2 separate regions of the Homo sapiens genome follow, and region 1 is linked to region 2. The links are contacts of gene promoters, found by promoter capture Hi-C in blood cells and fetal thymus (Javierre and others, 2016). All regions are on one chromosome and are shown on one strand. Each heading gives the region's core, a stretch centred on a gene start or on the middle of the fragment in contact. The rest is flanking DNA. Distances are from core to core; before and after follow the strand shown.

Region 1 (6,792 bases), core at 2,941-5,440, 1.0 Mb before region 2:
AAACCCTGGCTAGGGTCAGTCAGGGTTGGGGTGGTCCACCCCTGAAGGAGGGACTCAGGTGGCAGGCCCCTGATTGCTGGGTACATCACTCTGTGGTTTCTTCTGTACATGTGTTCCATGGCCTGGACTGGGACAGGGCAAGAGATATACCTGGGACACAAAATTCAAGGTGGTGCGCTCTCAAGCCCATGTAAATGCAAGGTCAGCCTTGTACAACAATGGGAGCAAGTGTCGCCTTAAGTTTGTCACAGGAAGTGCCTCATTTATGTCACCCTGATATCACCTTCGATGGATTCTCAGATTGATAAATGAAAACAACTGGTCGGTCAGGAAGAAGGCATAGCAGTGGTTTCTCCCCACCCCAGCATGTCACCATCGTCTTGGGAACAAGTTTGAGCACCCCTGGCTTAAAGGCGTGTTTCTTGTGGGCTGTCTGGGAACTGCCTGAACATCTCTCTCAGTTCTGATGGGAGAAACACGTGGGCAGGAGAGGTCTGGATACCAGTGGTGGGGCCATAAAGCCACCAAATGCATCCAGAGTCAGAAAAGCAGTCCAGGATGGTGGCCAGTGCCCCAGCTTGGTGCCACCCCACAGCGTCGCCTCCTGTCCATGGGGCCTTGGCAAGCCTTTCGCTCTGTAAGGCTAAACTCCCTCATGTGCCAAACAGATATTCTCAACACCGACCTGTCCCCTCCACGGGCAGACAGACAGTGGGCTCTGCTGCAGGAACTGCCTCTGTTTGGACCGCACCTCCACCTTTCCCAGCAGCCTAACCACAAGCAGGTCACGTAACCTTGGCAGGCCATGCTTCCCCTTCACTCAGTGGGATTAATAATGAGAGCACCTACTCACAGGGTTGTGCCAAAATTTTAATACAGTAAGGCAAGAAAATGCTTGGAACGGTGCAAGTGCCTTGCGCATAGCATATGCTCAATAAATGCTAGCTGTTATTACTATCGGTTTTAAAGTTCATAAACTCAGCCTTCTGCCAAAGAGCACCAAGATCACTTCTGCACTGCTACATGATGAGAGAGGCAGACATTTCTTTTTTTTTTTTTATCTTCATACATGCCCAGTTCCTGGAACAGCTTCGGGGCCACGTTCTTGAGGTTGGCGGAGATGGCTTTCCTGTCCCTAGCCTCCCTTTGGTGGCATTTTCAGAGTTACCTTGTACTTATTGACTTCCTCTGCGTGTCCATTGCTTTATACATATTGTCTCAAATCCTCTTGACAACCATACAAAGTAGGGCTCATTCCCCTTGTTTACAGATGAGAAACTTGGGGCTCCGTGAGGTTCGATAAATGGCTCAAGTTCACACAGGTGGTGGATGATGGTGACAGGGAGAAACCAATACCTCGATTCTAAAGCCCACAGGCTTCCTGCTCCCCGATCCCACCCCTGAGCTTGGGCCTATCTTCCTCCTGGCCTCCCTATCAAAGGCAACTCGTAGAAGAAGCCCCTGGTGATAAAGAAAACACGATTCCTCCTGGAGCTGAGTGGAGTTTACACTTCAACATGGACTGAAGCCTCCAGGGAAAGAAATAAAGGTCTGTAGAGAGAAGCTACGTCCTGGTGAGCAGAGACATGACAGCAGCAGTTTCTGCTACACCTAGAGAAAGCTTCCTTGAATTCAGTACATCCTGGGGAGAAGTCCCAATGGATTCCCTAAGCATGGGAATTTTGAATGCTGGCCTCTCTCTCTCTCTCTCTCTCTCTCTCTCTCTCTCTCTCTCTGTGTGTGTGTGTGTGTGTGTGTGTGTGTGTGTGAGATAGAGAGAGAGAGAGAGAGAGACCTTTATTTCTCCTGAGAGGCCACTTCTGAGCTTTGAATCAGGAGTGATGTGAGCATATATATCCCTAATGGGAATTATAGTTTGGGTTCCAATTTTTATACAAAGATCTCCCACTTCCCAGGGCTCCTTCCAGAGCTGAAGCCTGGCAGCCTTGGCCGAGGCCATCTCTGAACCCTCTGCATGGATGTGCACATTGGCTGTTGTGGTGGTTCAAATTTTGCCCTAGACCCTCATCAAAACCAACCTGGTTAATTGTAACATTGCCTAAGGAGCCAGGTGGGCAGGCACATGGTGGGTGCTTAACCAAGGTGGTGCTGGATTTTGGGGAAGAGAGAACATCCAAATGACAGCAGGGGCCGGTTACTCCTATGGCAACTGCATTTCTAACACAGCCTAAGGACGTTCTTAAGGACTCAGGGATTCATATACATTGCCCTGCCTAATGAGTTCACAAGGTGAAGGGATTTAACCTGCAAAGGATTGTGGTATCTGAGCAATGCAAAGGGGAATTGAGGAGGATTAGGAGAAGTGTCTGCTAGTTATGTGCATGCTTGAATGGAATCCACCTCATAAATTCAGTGTCTGCAAAACTGTGGGTGACAGGAGCTGAGAAGACCTGGTTTCTCGTTCGGACTCTGGCACCAACCAGCTATGGAACCCTGGGCAAGTGAACCTCTCTGGTGCCCTAAGGTAGAGAAATGTCTAAAAATCACTCCAGCCAAATATTCGGCTCTTCCTTTCTAGCAGTTTAAAAATATTTATAATTATAGATTTTAAAAAATAAAGTTATATAATTTTTAGATGCCAACTGAAACTATACAGAACTATATATATACATAACTCTATATAACTCTATGACACAGCACATAAAACTTACAAAGCATCATATAGAACAATGTCTCATAGTTCATATGTCTCAGGGTTCACTTATTTTTTAAACAGATTTATTCACATCTGTAATACAATTATTTCTTTGTTTTGAATACAACCTGGAGGGAAGCATATGGGAGACACAGCCTTTATTTAAAAAAATGAAGTAATGATATGGAATGATTGACAGTTGGATAGAATTTTCATTGTCGGCACTTCTACTTCTTTATATGACCCTGCACCTTTCACAGTGCTAATATTTGTTTAAGGTTGCTTAACGTTGTTCCTCTCCTCTAGAACTTTGGAAGTAAAAGCCATTCTCATCTTTAGAAACAGTAGATTCAATAATAATAAATAATAATAAACTAGAAGCCTGAGTTTCTGTTCCTACCTGTCAGTCAATGCCTAAATAATTTCATTTTCACCCATTCACCCATTCATTACATGAAAGGGGCTGGGATAAGAGAGAACACTCCTGAAGGGGAGGACTACTTTTTCTCCTCCTTTTAGTTCCTACCCACTCTTGCATGGGTTTTATACACATATGTGGTTTCAGATTTTATGAATTCTATACTTTCAAAGTGGGTGAATGTCAAGTTCAGCTGTGACTGTTACCGAGCTGGATGAAGCTGCCCAGATGCAGCCTGCAGATGGTGTGGAATGAGGGGCTCAGTGCACAGAGTTCAAAGTGCAAACAGAAGCTGTGTAAGAAAGTGCAGCAAACTGTGGTTGGTGTTAAAACTGCTCCTGAAAAAAATGGCACTCAAACCAATGTATCTTAGTTGACCTAAACTCTCTTTTGCACATTCTGGGGCAGTAATAAGAAACAAACATTGATAGCTATACATATTATAAAATTTTGCACAGTAAAAGGGGAAGTGCTTCTCTCTTGAGCAATGAGTGCCACTCTGACATTTTTTGTCTCCCTTAAAAAACTCACCTAGGATGGGCCGGGTGCAGTGGCTCATACCTGTAATCCCAGCATTTTGGGAGGCTGAGGCGGGCAGATCACGAGGTCGGGAGATCGAAACCATCCTGGCCAACATGGTGAAAACCTGTCTCTACTAAAAATACAAAAATTAGCCGGGCGTGGTGGCACACACCTGTAATCCCAGCTACTCAGGAGGCTGAGGCAGGAGAATGGCTGAACGTGGGAGGCGGAGATTGCAGTGAGCTGAGATGGGGCCACTGCACTCCAGCCTGGTGACAGAGCTAGTAGACTCCATCCAAAAAAAAAAAAAAAAAAAAAAACCAACAACAAAAACTCACCCACAATGGAATGTGACTATGGAATACCCTGCGGTGTGTTCAGAGCTCTGACTTCTGTTTGCTCTTTTTAACATAACCCCCATCTGGCAAGCTGACTGCTGCAAGATTTTCTGGGTCTTTCTTTAGGATCTACTAACAATGAAAAACATATATATGAAAACCTACACATTTTCAGAAGCACATGAGAGCTGATCAAGACCCACGTACCTCCCAAGGAGAGGAGATGACAGAGGCTGCTCTGTGGTGTTGCTCTCAGGCTATATTTGATTTATTGCTCAAATCTTATTATTTCATTCTCCATTCGAGACTAGCAAAGTTTCTTTTGAGAAGTCACAGTCTCTACGGAGGGTATTCTAACGCCCAGAAGTAAAAGTTGGATGTTGGCAAAGAAAGCAAAGTAGAATCTTTGCAAAATGTTGGAGCTGCATAGTTCTCTCTCCCAATGGACATGTTTCAAGACTGAATACGTTGAGTATTTGATTTAGAATCAATTTAACATGAACTTCGCATTTATGCAAAGCAGCATCAGTCCTGAGATCAGCAGAGCGATTGAGCAAGCCCAACTAGCAAACTGAGATTTCTATTTGTGATGACCTTTCCCATTTGAGGCCCCAAAAATGTCTTGGGGAACTCATTGTTTAAAAAGAAGTCCATCAAAAAATGGACACATATGGACCATGGCATGGGAGGGCAGTGCTGCATACAAAATCAACAATTCTCTAAATGAACACCGATCTTGCAGAAAAACAAAATGAAAGCAAAACAAAAAGAAATTTCTAATTTCAAGAGAAAAACTGAATAACAACTTTCTTTTCATTCATCCTTTCTTTCTTCTTTTTCTTTCTTTCTTTTTTTTTTTTTTTTTAACGAAGCAATGACTTTCTCAGGGAGAAAGATTTGCATCCATGCTGAGGAAATAGACAGGGCCAGTAATCACACAGCAACAATCATCTGTAACTTGCAGAAATTCAATGTATGAATAAGTGTTTAAAGCCTAGATAGAGGGCAATTATCTGGTTATCTGTTTTTCATATTTCTATCAGAGATAAAAACCTCTTTAGGGAAATTTATGAAGGGCCATTTGAAAGAAGGTTTCCCTCTTTTGTAGAAAAGAATTCTCTTAAAAATTAAAACAAATTTGGGAGGCTGGGGGATTTTTGAGAGTTTAAAAGAGTGAGGAAGATGGGGGGCGGGAAGCAACTATTTCCAGCTGCGAGAAACCGATCAACCTCACAGCAAGGTGTGGTGGCTCTGATGCAAGCAACATTCCCATAGATACAGGGCTGTCTGGTTTTCTATTGCTCATTCTAACTTGAGGAGACGCTCAAGTGTGATTTGGGGCTTTGACACTGAAAATAGGTGTGAACTTGGATCCATTTAACCTAGCCCCTTCCCCCACCTCATCCCTTCTCCTGTCCAGTTTGCTTTCAATGGGTCAACAATAAATATTCACCCTTGGCATCCATCTGCAACTTCCAAGAGGGAATGAAGGAAGAACATAAAGTTTCTCTGCATTTGTTTCCAAAGCCCAGCTGGCACAGAAAACAAATGATACAAGATATGACTGGGAAGGCACACAGCCTGTCTTTGTCACCAGGTCTGGCAGATGTGGCTCTGGGTTCACGAGACATCTGCTCCCAGCTACCTTCCTCTCTGCTTCCCTCCACTCTCCAGGCTGGAAAGTGACAACTCCATTGTCCTCAGTTCCCTCCAGCCAGAGGCCTGTGACCTAGTTGTGGCCTAAGCAATATGTCAGCGAAAGTTTGCAGAGAAGGGCTTCCCTTCCTGAATAAAAATACCAGGACCCACAAGAAGGGGTTGAGGCCTCCCATGTCCTTTCTGCCTGGACAGATCAGAGGTGCAGGCCATCTCTCCCTGGCCTCAGCATGGTGGGACCAAAACATAGGAGTGTCCTGCACCCCACCGTATCAGCCTGGACTGCTCACTCTGGAACTCCTGCCCGTCTGCTCAAGCCACTGTGGTCAGCTTTTCTCTACGTGCAGCCAAACATAATTTTCATGGGTAAACCTGAGCAAGGGCCTTACTCTTTCTGTCACTGCAATAAAATACATAATTTCCGTCATGTTTCGGATTTAGTGTTTATTCCTCCACCTTGGCTCCTTTCTGGCATCATTACTCAGTGTTATTGCAAGATGAGGGAGGGAGAGAAAGAGAGAGATTCAGAGAGCCAAGAGAGTATAACACGTGTCTCCCCAACAAAGAGTGAAGCCTGCGCAAGTGAGAGCAGTGTGTCTGAGCTTATCCTCCCAGCATGTTGAAGGTGACAGGAGGTTTTGAGCCCTGTTTTGTGTTCAAGAGCCAGCCTGTGTTCTCGTAAAGTACTCCCTGATTGTGTTCACGGTCAGCAAAGATCTCAAAGGAAATGCTCCCTTTTTACCACTCCAGGACATCCTAGTTATTATATTTTATGAGAGGGAAGAGGTCAAGAAAGACATACCTCTTTGCCTTGGCTGGAGGCTCAGCAAAAAGGCTAAAGAAGGGGACTGGTGGCATCTGATGGGGAGGAGCAGGGGAGGCCGAGAAACAAGAGTTGTGGGAAAAGTGCTTTGAACATTTTAATATCTGTTCAGGCACCAGTGTAGCTTCTGAAGATTTCTTGAAAAATGGGAGTTGGAGAAAGCAATTACGAAAATGAGGGAAAATATCTTGCATTTGTGAAATGATGGGAGAACTATTTTCTAAACAGAAAATAAAATATTTTTAAGTGGCTTTGTGTTATTAAGCTAAGAAGATTTGTGATGTGTTTTATGGTACCTCTTTCTGATGCATGTAAAGACTTCCAACAGGAACTTGGTAATTTAGATGCAAGCTTGTCTAGAATATTATTAGCCCATTTT
Region 2 (7,472 bases), core at 4,393-6,892:
AGTCTTCCATCAGCTTCCTGGCAGGTTGGATTTGATGCTCCTGGCTCATGGTGGGAATTCCTGCCTCAAGTCCTCCATCAGTTTCCCAGCAAGTTGGATTTGATGAGTCCCAATTCATCTCCCCTCCCAGGAGGACACTGTCTGCTTATACAGCTGGTTCTAGTGTTAACTTATTTCATTGATTTTGTGTACCCCATTGTGGAGTTAATCATCCCTGTGCTCCAGAACTCCTCCTAGAATCAATGACTAATGGGAAGATTTTCTTCTACCTGGTTATCCTTCCAAAAACTTACGTGCTAATCTAAGTGGAAATTCTCTCCAAACATATATATGAACAAAAGCTGGCCTATGGAATACATCTAGAAGATCCTTTACCTATATTTATATGGTAGATAGTGTTTAATATCAAAAAACATATAGTAATCTACACTTACTTTCATTTTCATATTGGATATACTAGGCAAAGTAGAAGTGGCCATTAGGAGCTCATGAGAGTAAAGCTTATCACAAATGTCTCAAAGCCTCAAAATTTCCACTATCATCAATCTACATGGGAGGCCCTGACCTGGCTAGTGCTTTTGGTGGTGAAAGGAAATGCTGCGGTCAGTTCCCAAGGCAGAAAAGAAGAGAGAGTCTAAAGATGGAATCCTGCTTAGGAGATTTCCTGTGCCCCTCCACAAACTAAGATGAATTCCCCAGAGTTCATACATTTTGACTGAAGCCCAGAAATGTTACCTCCTATCATACACTGATTAAGAGCTAAAAACTACATGAAGCACTTACAGAAGGTTCCCCAGAACTGTAAGCACTGGGCACGGGTCACTGCCAAGCCACCTGCATCACCCGAAATCTGGGGCTGGGGCCAGGGCAAGTTGTGCTCACTTTTAAAAATAGGAACTCTTTACTGCTCCAAATTACAAACAGATGACCTATTCTCAGGTATTCCATCTAAACCATCTGCTGATTCCTGCTTGATGATTTTAAACCCATCCTTCCTAGGGCAAATGACACCAGAGATGTGGGCAGGCCTTAGACACGGCAAGTTTACTGCTGACACTACTGACTCTCTTGATCATCTGGGGAAAAACTCTGTTCTGTACATCTAAGGGTGTGGCTTTTACTGACCATCTTTGACACACAAAAACAGAAAGTCAAGCATTATTTTAGAGGCTGACAATATGGTTCATGACCATCAACTAGAAGGGGCCTTAATAGAAAATGGCTCAAATCAAGCATTTTAGTTCAAAGTCATGATGTGTAACTGACTCATGGAGAACAACTTTACACACATCACCTCACTCAGCAAGGGGCACAAGTGGGAAATCATTTGCCTTGGCGTGTGGTATATGAGGAAGTTAATTTGCTCAAAGTTCAATTACCTAATGGGTACTTGAATAATAATTCTAATGGCCAAGGGGAGCATTGTGTGGCATATGCTTTGACTTTTCTGTAAGATGCAGCCTGCCCTGTGATGTAGAATTTTGGGGCCCTAATTGCACCACCACTATCTCTGTGCTACAGCAGACTCCAAATCCTTTTAAAGAGCATCTTGGTCCTCCCTGTGGTTATCTCTTGCCCACCTGTGGGAAGAGTGGAGTGGCCATGTATGCAGGCACACACCCATAGCAAGCTGCCCAACTTCTGTGAGAGAATGTTCCAGAAGAAAGTGGTTTTTGTTTTTTGTTAGTTTTTTGAGACAAGGTCTCACTCTATCGCCCAAGCTGGAGTGCAGGGGCATGATCATGGCTCTCTGCAGCCTCAGCCTCCCGGGCTCAAGCAATCCTCCTGCCTAAGCCTCTAGAGTAGCTGGGACTACAGGGCACACCACCGCGCCTGGCTAACTTTTGTACTTTTAGTAGAGACAGGATGTTGTCATGTTGGCCAGGCTGGTCTCAAACTCATGAGCTCAAGTGATCTGCCTGCCTCAGCCTCCCAAAGTGCTGGGATTACAGATGTGAGCCACCACGCCTGGCAAAATGTTAACCTAACCTCCCTAATAAGCACAAGTTCCAGAGAAGAATGTCAGTCTACCTCAGTTCAGTGCTGAAGCCCACTGCTCTGCAATTAACTGGCCATACACAGGGGACTCCTCCTCCAACCCAAGGGGAACACATGCAAACCAGCTGAAGGACAATATCTGCTGAGGCCCACCTGCAAGAGTGGCCCCTGCTGTCTACCTGGCTCTCGTGTGGGAAAGGGCAGGACAGCTGAAGGCTAGATCTTACCTGGAAAACAAGCAGGCGCTAAGTTTGAATCTTGAAACTTCCTAGCTTTCAGCCACTTCCTCAGCTCTATAAATTCAGACTTGTGGCTCTCATTCACTATCAGGCAAGGAGAGAACAAATGGTGATTAAAACCACTATATAATCGGATTACCATTTTTAAAAGAACATGTCTGATGAAATGTGTCAGACAGACTTACACAATAGTAAGAATTGGTGTATCTAAACATAGAAAAGTTACAATAAAAACACAGTATTGGCCAGGCGCAATGACTCACTTCTGTATTCCCAGCATTTGGGAGGCCAAGGCGGGAGGACTGCTTGAGGCCAGGAGTTTGAGCCCAGCCTGCCCAACACAGAAAGACCCCATCTCTTAAAAAAAAAAAAAATACAATATTATAATCTGAGGACCACCACTGTACATGTGATCCATCAACCAAAACATACTTATGCAACATACGACTATATTCATTCAATGTAATCCTAATCAAAATTCAAGCAGGCTTTCATACAGGAATTAACAAGATGATCCCAAAATTCATGTGGAAATGTAAAAAGCCTAGAATAGCCCCAATATCTTTGAAAGATTGATTTTAAAACTTATTATAAAGCTACAGTAATCAAATTAGTGTGATATTGTCAAAACAGACACAAATAGGTCAAAGGAACAACACAGAAAATAGGAAGAGGTCCACACGTAAATTTTTGACAAAGTGCAAAGGCAAATCAGTGGAAGAAGATAGTCTTTTCAATAAATGATGATCAAACAACTGGACCTCCATCAGCAAAAAAAAAAGTGAGCTTATCGATATCTTGTACCATATCCAGTTGGATTTACATAGGACTTTCCAGATGGCCAAGCACTTTTGTATTGAACAAGATACAGTATCTTCTTCAGACAGGGTTACCCTGAATTTGAAGTCATAAATTTACATCCAAACATTGATATCCTACAGATAGCTGAAGGTCAAGACCAGAAAAAGAAAGTTGGGAGTCATCCCCAGAGAAGACAGTTGAAACAATGAGTTAGTTATCTTCACATTCCCACCAGGATCTAAAAGAATACAATGGCACCATTAAAAAAGAGTGTTATTTAAGAAATATTCTCTTTGGGCTGGGCACAGTGGCTCACACCTGTAATCCCAGTGCTTTGGGGAGGCCAAGGCAGGAGGACCACTCGAGCCCAGGAGTTCAAGACCAGCCTGTGCAACATAGACCCTGTCACTACAACAAATTTAAAAAAACATTAGCCGGGTGCAGTGGCATGTACCTGTAGTCCCAGGTACTTGGGAGGCTGAGGCAGGAGGGAGGCTAAGGGAGGAGATCACTTGAGCCTGGGAGATCAAGCCATGATCACGCCACTGCATTCCAATCTGGGTAACAGAATGTACCTTGTCTCCAAAAAAAAAAAAAAAAGAAAGATTCTCTTTGAACACTGTGTGCCTTTGAGAAAAGCTATGTGTTAGGCCGAGCATGCTGGCTCACGCCTGTAGTCCCAGCTACTTGGGAGGCTGAGGCAGGAGAATCGCTTGAACCGGGGAAGCAGAGGTTGCAGTGAGCCAAGATGACACCACTGCACTCCAGCCTGGGTGACAGAGCGAGAATCCGTCTCAGAAAAAAGAAAGAAAGAAAGAAAAGCTACGTATGAACAAACAAGCAATCACAAAAGGATTTCTTTTTTCATTACTGGTACTAAAAGAAAAACCATACCTCCTCTTGATTCAGAACTTCCGCAGAGTTTTCGTCTTCTGATCCGGCTTGTTCTCCCTTTTCCTTTCTGCATGCTAAAACTGTAGTTTCTTTTTTCTGAAATACAGTTCTATTTTTTCAAAAAGGACAAAACTGTAATTTCTGTGGAAATGCTCAATCTAAAATAAAAAACATTTCTTTGATTTACTTTCCAGTTATATGATAATCACTGTTCTTTGTACCTTTAAGTATACAAATGTATGTTTTGGTAAACTGTTTCTCTCAAGTGCTTTTGTACATGAAACGTTTATACTGTGAGCTAAATCATGATCCCTACAGTAACAGAATTCCCATTATATCAGTCCCTCTAAAACAGTTTTATCTTGCAGACCTAGTGACTACAGCTTAATCTACTAAAAATACAAAAAATAGCTAGGCGTGGTGGCACACGCCTGTAATCCCAGCTACTTGGGAGGCTGAGGCAGGAGAATCGCTTGAACCTGGGAGGCGGAGGTTGCAGTGAGCCGAGATCGCGCTACTGCACTCCAGCCTGGGCGACAGAGCGAGGCTCCGTCTCAAAAAAATAAAAAAATAAATACATAAATAAAAATAAAATAATGGCTGGGTACAGTGGCTCACGCCTGTAAAACCAGCACTTTGGGAGCCCGAGGCGGGCTGAGGTCAGGAGTTCAAGACCAGCCTGGCCAACATGGTGAAACCCCGTCTCTACTAAAAATACAAAAATCAGCCGGGCGTGGTGGCAGGCACCTGTAATACCAGCTACTGGGGAGGCTGAGGCAGGAGAATCGCTTGATCTCAGGAGGCGGAAGCTGCAGCTAGACGAGATCACGCCACTGCACTCCAACCTGGGCGACAGAGCGAGACTCTGTCACAAAAAATAAATTAAAAAAATAAAAATAAAAAATAAATCTACTTCTAAAACATACGAGGGCAGAAATGAGCAAGAGACAAGAACTCCAGGCAATATTAATACCGCACTTCCGCAGTATAAGGTTCATTATTTGACCTAACGAAAGTCGGCATGTCCAGCTCCAGAGGCGAACGGCGGCTGGTTCGGTGCGGGTCCCAGCGCTCAGTCCACAGACCGCGCCGGGAAGTGTCCCCAAGACTCCCGGGCCCTCGCGCGAGCTGTCCACCATCACCCTGCTGAGGACCACGTGAAGCCCGGTGACCGCCACAGACACAGGCACCGTCCCCGCCCCCATAGTCCTCAAACTCTAGCCGTGAGGCCGTCCTACGGTCCGACACACACCGCTCCCGCAGCCATAGGCCAGCCAGGCGAGCATCGGACCTCGGGCCTCAGGCTCCTCAGCTTTACGCAGCGCGCCGGAGCAACATGCGCTAAGTGTAGGACTCCACAAGATGAGAGGTTACTGCAGCGCACACGATAATGCCTGCCCTGGAGGGGACCTGCGACCTAAACTCAGTTCTTTTTACGCTGATGAATGAAAGACTAAGGAACGCACCCCGCCGACTCTGCTCCCGTTACCCGGGCAACTGGAGGCCCGACCCGGAAGTCCTACTAGCTCACCTAGGCGCCGGCGGCCGCTTCCAAGATGGAGGCTGCAGTGGGCGGGCCCAAGGCACGTGGAAATACCAAACAGCCCCAGATGAAGGCAAGTTAAAGGAACCGGCCAAAACTGCAGAGGGAGAGGCTGAAGGCTGTCGCGCCTGCCTGGTGTCCTTAAGCAATCCAAGTCCTCAGTCTCCCGGGTCCGCCCCTTCCGCCGCGGGCGGCAGCTTCCGGCTCGCGCATGCGCAGTGTTCGCGGACTCGCCGCCAACGCCCAGTACAGTCGGGGACGAGGTCGGCACACCCACAGCCCCATAACCCCTACGTCGAGTCAGGGGTCAGAAAACCCAGTAACCCGCAGGCGAGCAAGCTGCGCACTGAAAAGCCGGCCTGCGGAGTCTTTCCTTACGAAGTTAAACCACCTAGGGCGCGCGGCCCTGTTCGCCCAGACCTCGGGCTTTCCTGCCAGGCTGGGTTTGCCGGGTCGAGTCACTTTGCTCGCCAATCCCCGCCCCCATTCCACCGTTTCATTCTGGCCCCAGGACCCGCCTCACAGGAAAATTCTAAATAATATATCTAAATACCCCTTCTTCCAATAGCGGGAGCTCGATTTCTGCCCCACCCACCCCCACTTTGATTATGGGCTATGCCTAGTAACTTGATTCCAAAGAGTACAGCCTGGAATGGTGTTGGGGACTACAGTGGAGAAACCTGGCAAACAGTACCTTACCGGGTGGTCAAGGATAACATCAGGAAGAAATCATGCTGATAGCATGTTCCTGTGGTGTCTCTCTCCAAAACCCTTCTATGGAAATCTTCTATGGGGGAAAAAAAATTAGTACTCCTAAACATGTTTTCTGTCATGAAAAACAAGTACAGTTGTCCCTTAGTGTCCGTGGGGGAATGGTTCCAGGACCCTGCGGATACCAGAATTAGAATGCTCAAGTCCCTTGTATACAATGGTGTAAACCTAAGTAACAAAAGAGGCTCCCTAAAAGAAAATGAGATTTATCTGGGAGTAGCATTGCAATGGGAATATGCATGCCATAGTAAACTGTGTGCGTTTTGGGGGAGGTTGAGGCAAGGAGATGTTTTTAAAAGGAAAATGAAGATTATATGAATTGCTTTAAATCAATTATCTTTGGCTAAAAGAATGAATAACAAAGGTAGCATCAGTCCAAAGTTGCTGGACAGATGTCCTTGCAGAAGGATTTTCTGTGTTTAAGATTGGGCCTTTCTGCAAGGTTAGGGTCTTTTGTGACAATTCTTGTTATGAGGCGTAGTGCATGAGAACCCTTCCTTCAAGGCCTTCCCCAGCTGCATTTATCAGGGTTTTGACACAAGTGACTCCATTTTGATTCTGCAACTTTCACAATGGTGTAATATTTGCATATAACCTATGCACATCCTCCCATATACTTTAAATCATCTCTAGATTACTTATAACATCTAATACAATGTAAATACTATGTAAATAGTGAAGGGGTGGCCTGCCGCTCCACACCTGTGGGTGTTTCTCATCGGGTGGGATGAGAGACTGAGAAAAAAAAGAGACACAGAGGCAAAGTATAGAGAAAGAAAAGTGGGCCCAGTGGACCGGCGCTCAGCATACGGAGCACAAATCCTATTTAAACTACAGATTCTAAACACAAATGATTTTATTCACCCCTGCCCCCCAACACTAAAAGATTTAAACACTAACATAGTTTCTAACAGCTGTAAACTAAACAAATCCTAAGCCCCTACTGACTGAATGGAACCCCTTTTGGCCAAGATGGCCCCAGAAAAAAACTTAGAAACTTAGTTCCCAGCCCTGATGGAATGTGAGGTCAGACATGCCTCATTATACCCTCTCTCTTTTACAGTTTAGATACAACTGGCCAGCATTGATGTTAAAATAGAGACCATGAGACTGATGGAACAGACTTTTTGTGGCAATAAGATACAAAAATTATAAACAAGACCTAAGGCCATTCCAGGAAAGAGTTAAGTCACTTCAAGAATAAATTCTGTTCTAATGGTTACAAG

What was found. The method cuts DNA at HindIII sites, captures the fragments that hold promoters and counts their contacts. A CHiCAGO score of 5 or more calls a contact.
Region 1: a fragment that was not itself captured here is called in contact with the fragment with the promoter of SETD4 in region 2 in 1 of 17 cell types (neutrophils); the score reaches 5.7 in neutrophils.

What each region holds. Positions count from the first base shown.
Region 1 is chr21:35,036,879-35,043,670 of GRCh38, forward strand. All of the region lies in intron 2 of RUNX1 (RUNX family transcription factor 1), which reads right to left. It overlaps RUNX1-IT1 (RUNX1 intronic transcript 1), which reads right to left and starts at 2,548. Exons shown (of 1, transcript NR_026812.1): 1 at 1,047-2,548. The HindIII fragment of the contact is 5,143 bases long and covers 1,620-6,762 here.
Region 2 is chr21:36,054,884-36,062,355 of GRCh38, forward strand. SETD4 (SET domain containing 4) reads right to left here and starts at 5,643. Exons shown (of 12, transcript NM_017438.5): 1 at 5,464-5,643; 2 at 3,933-4,041; 3 at 2,226-2,321. The coding sequence starts at 4,005. It overlaps SETD4-AS1 (SETD4 antisense RNA 1), which reads left to right and starts at 5,721. Exons shown (of 3, transcript NR_186380.1): 1 at 5,721-5,738. RefSeq lists enhancers at 5,416-5,565, 5,596-5,645. The HindIII fragment of the contact is 7,728 bases long and covers 499-7,472 here.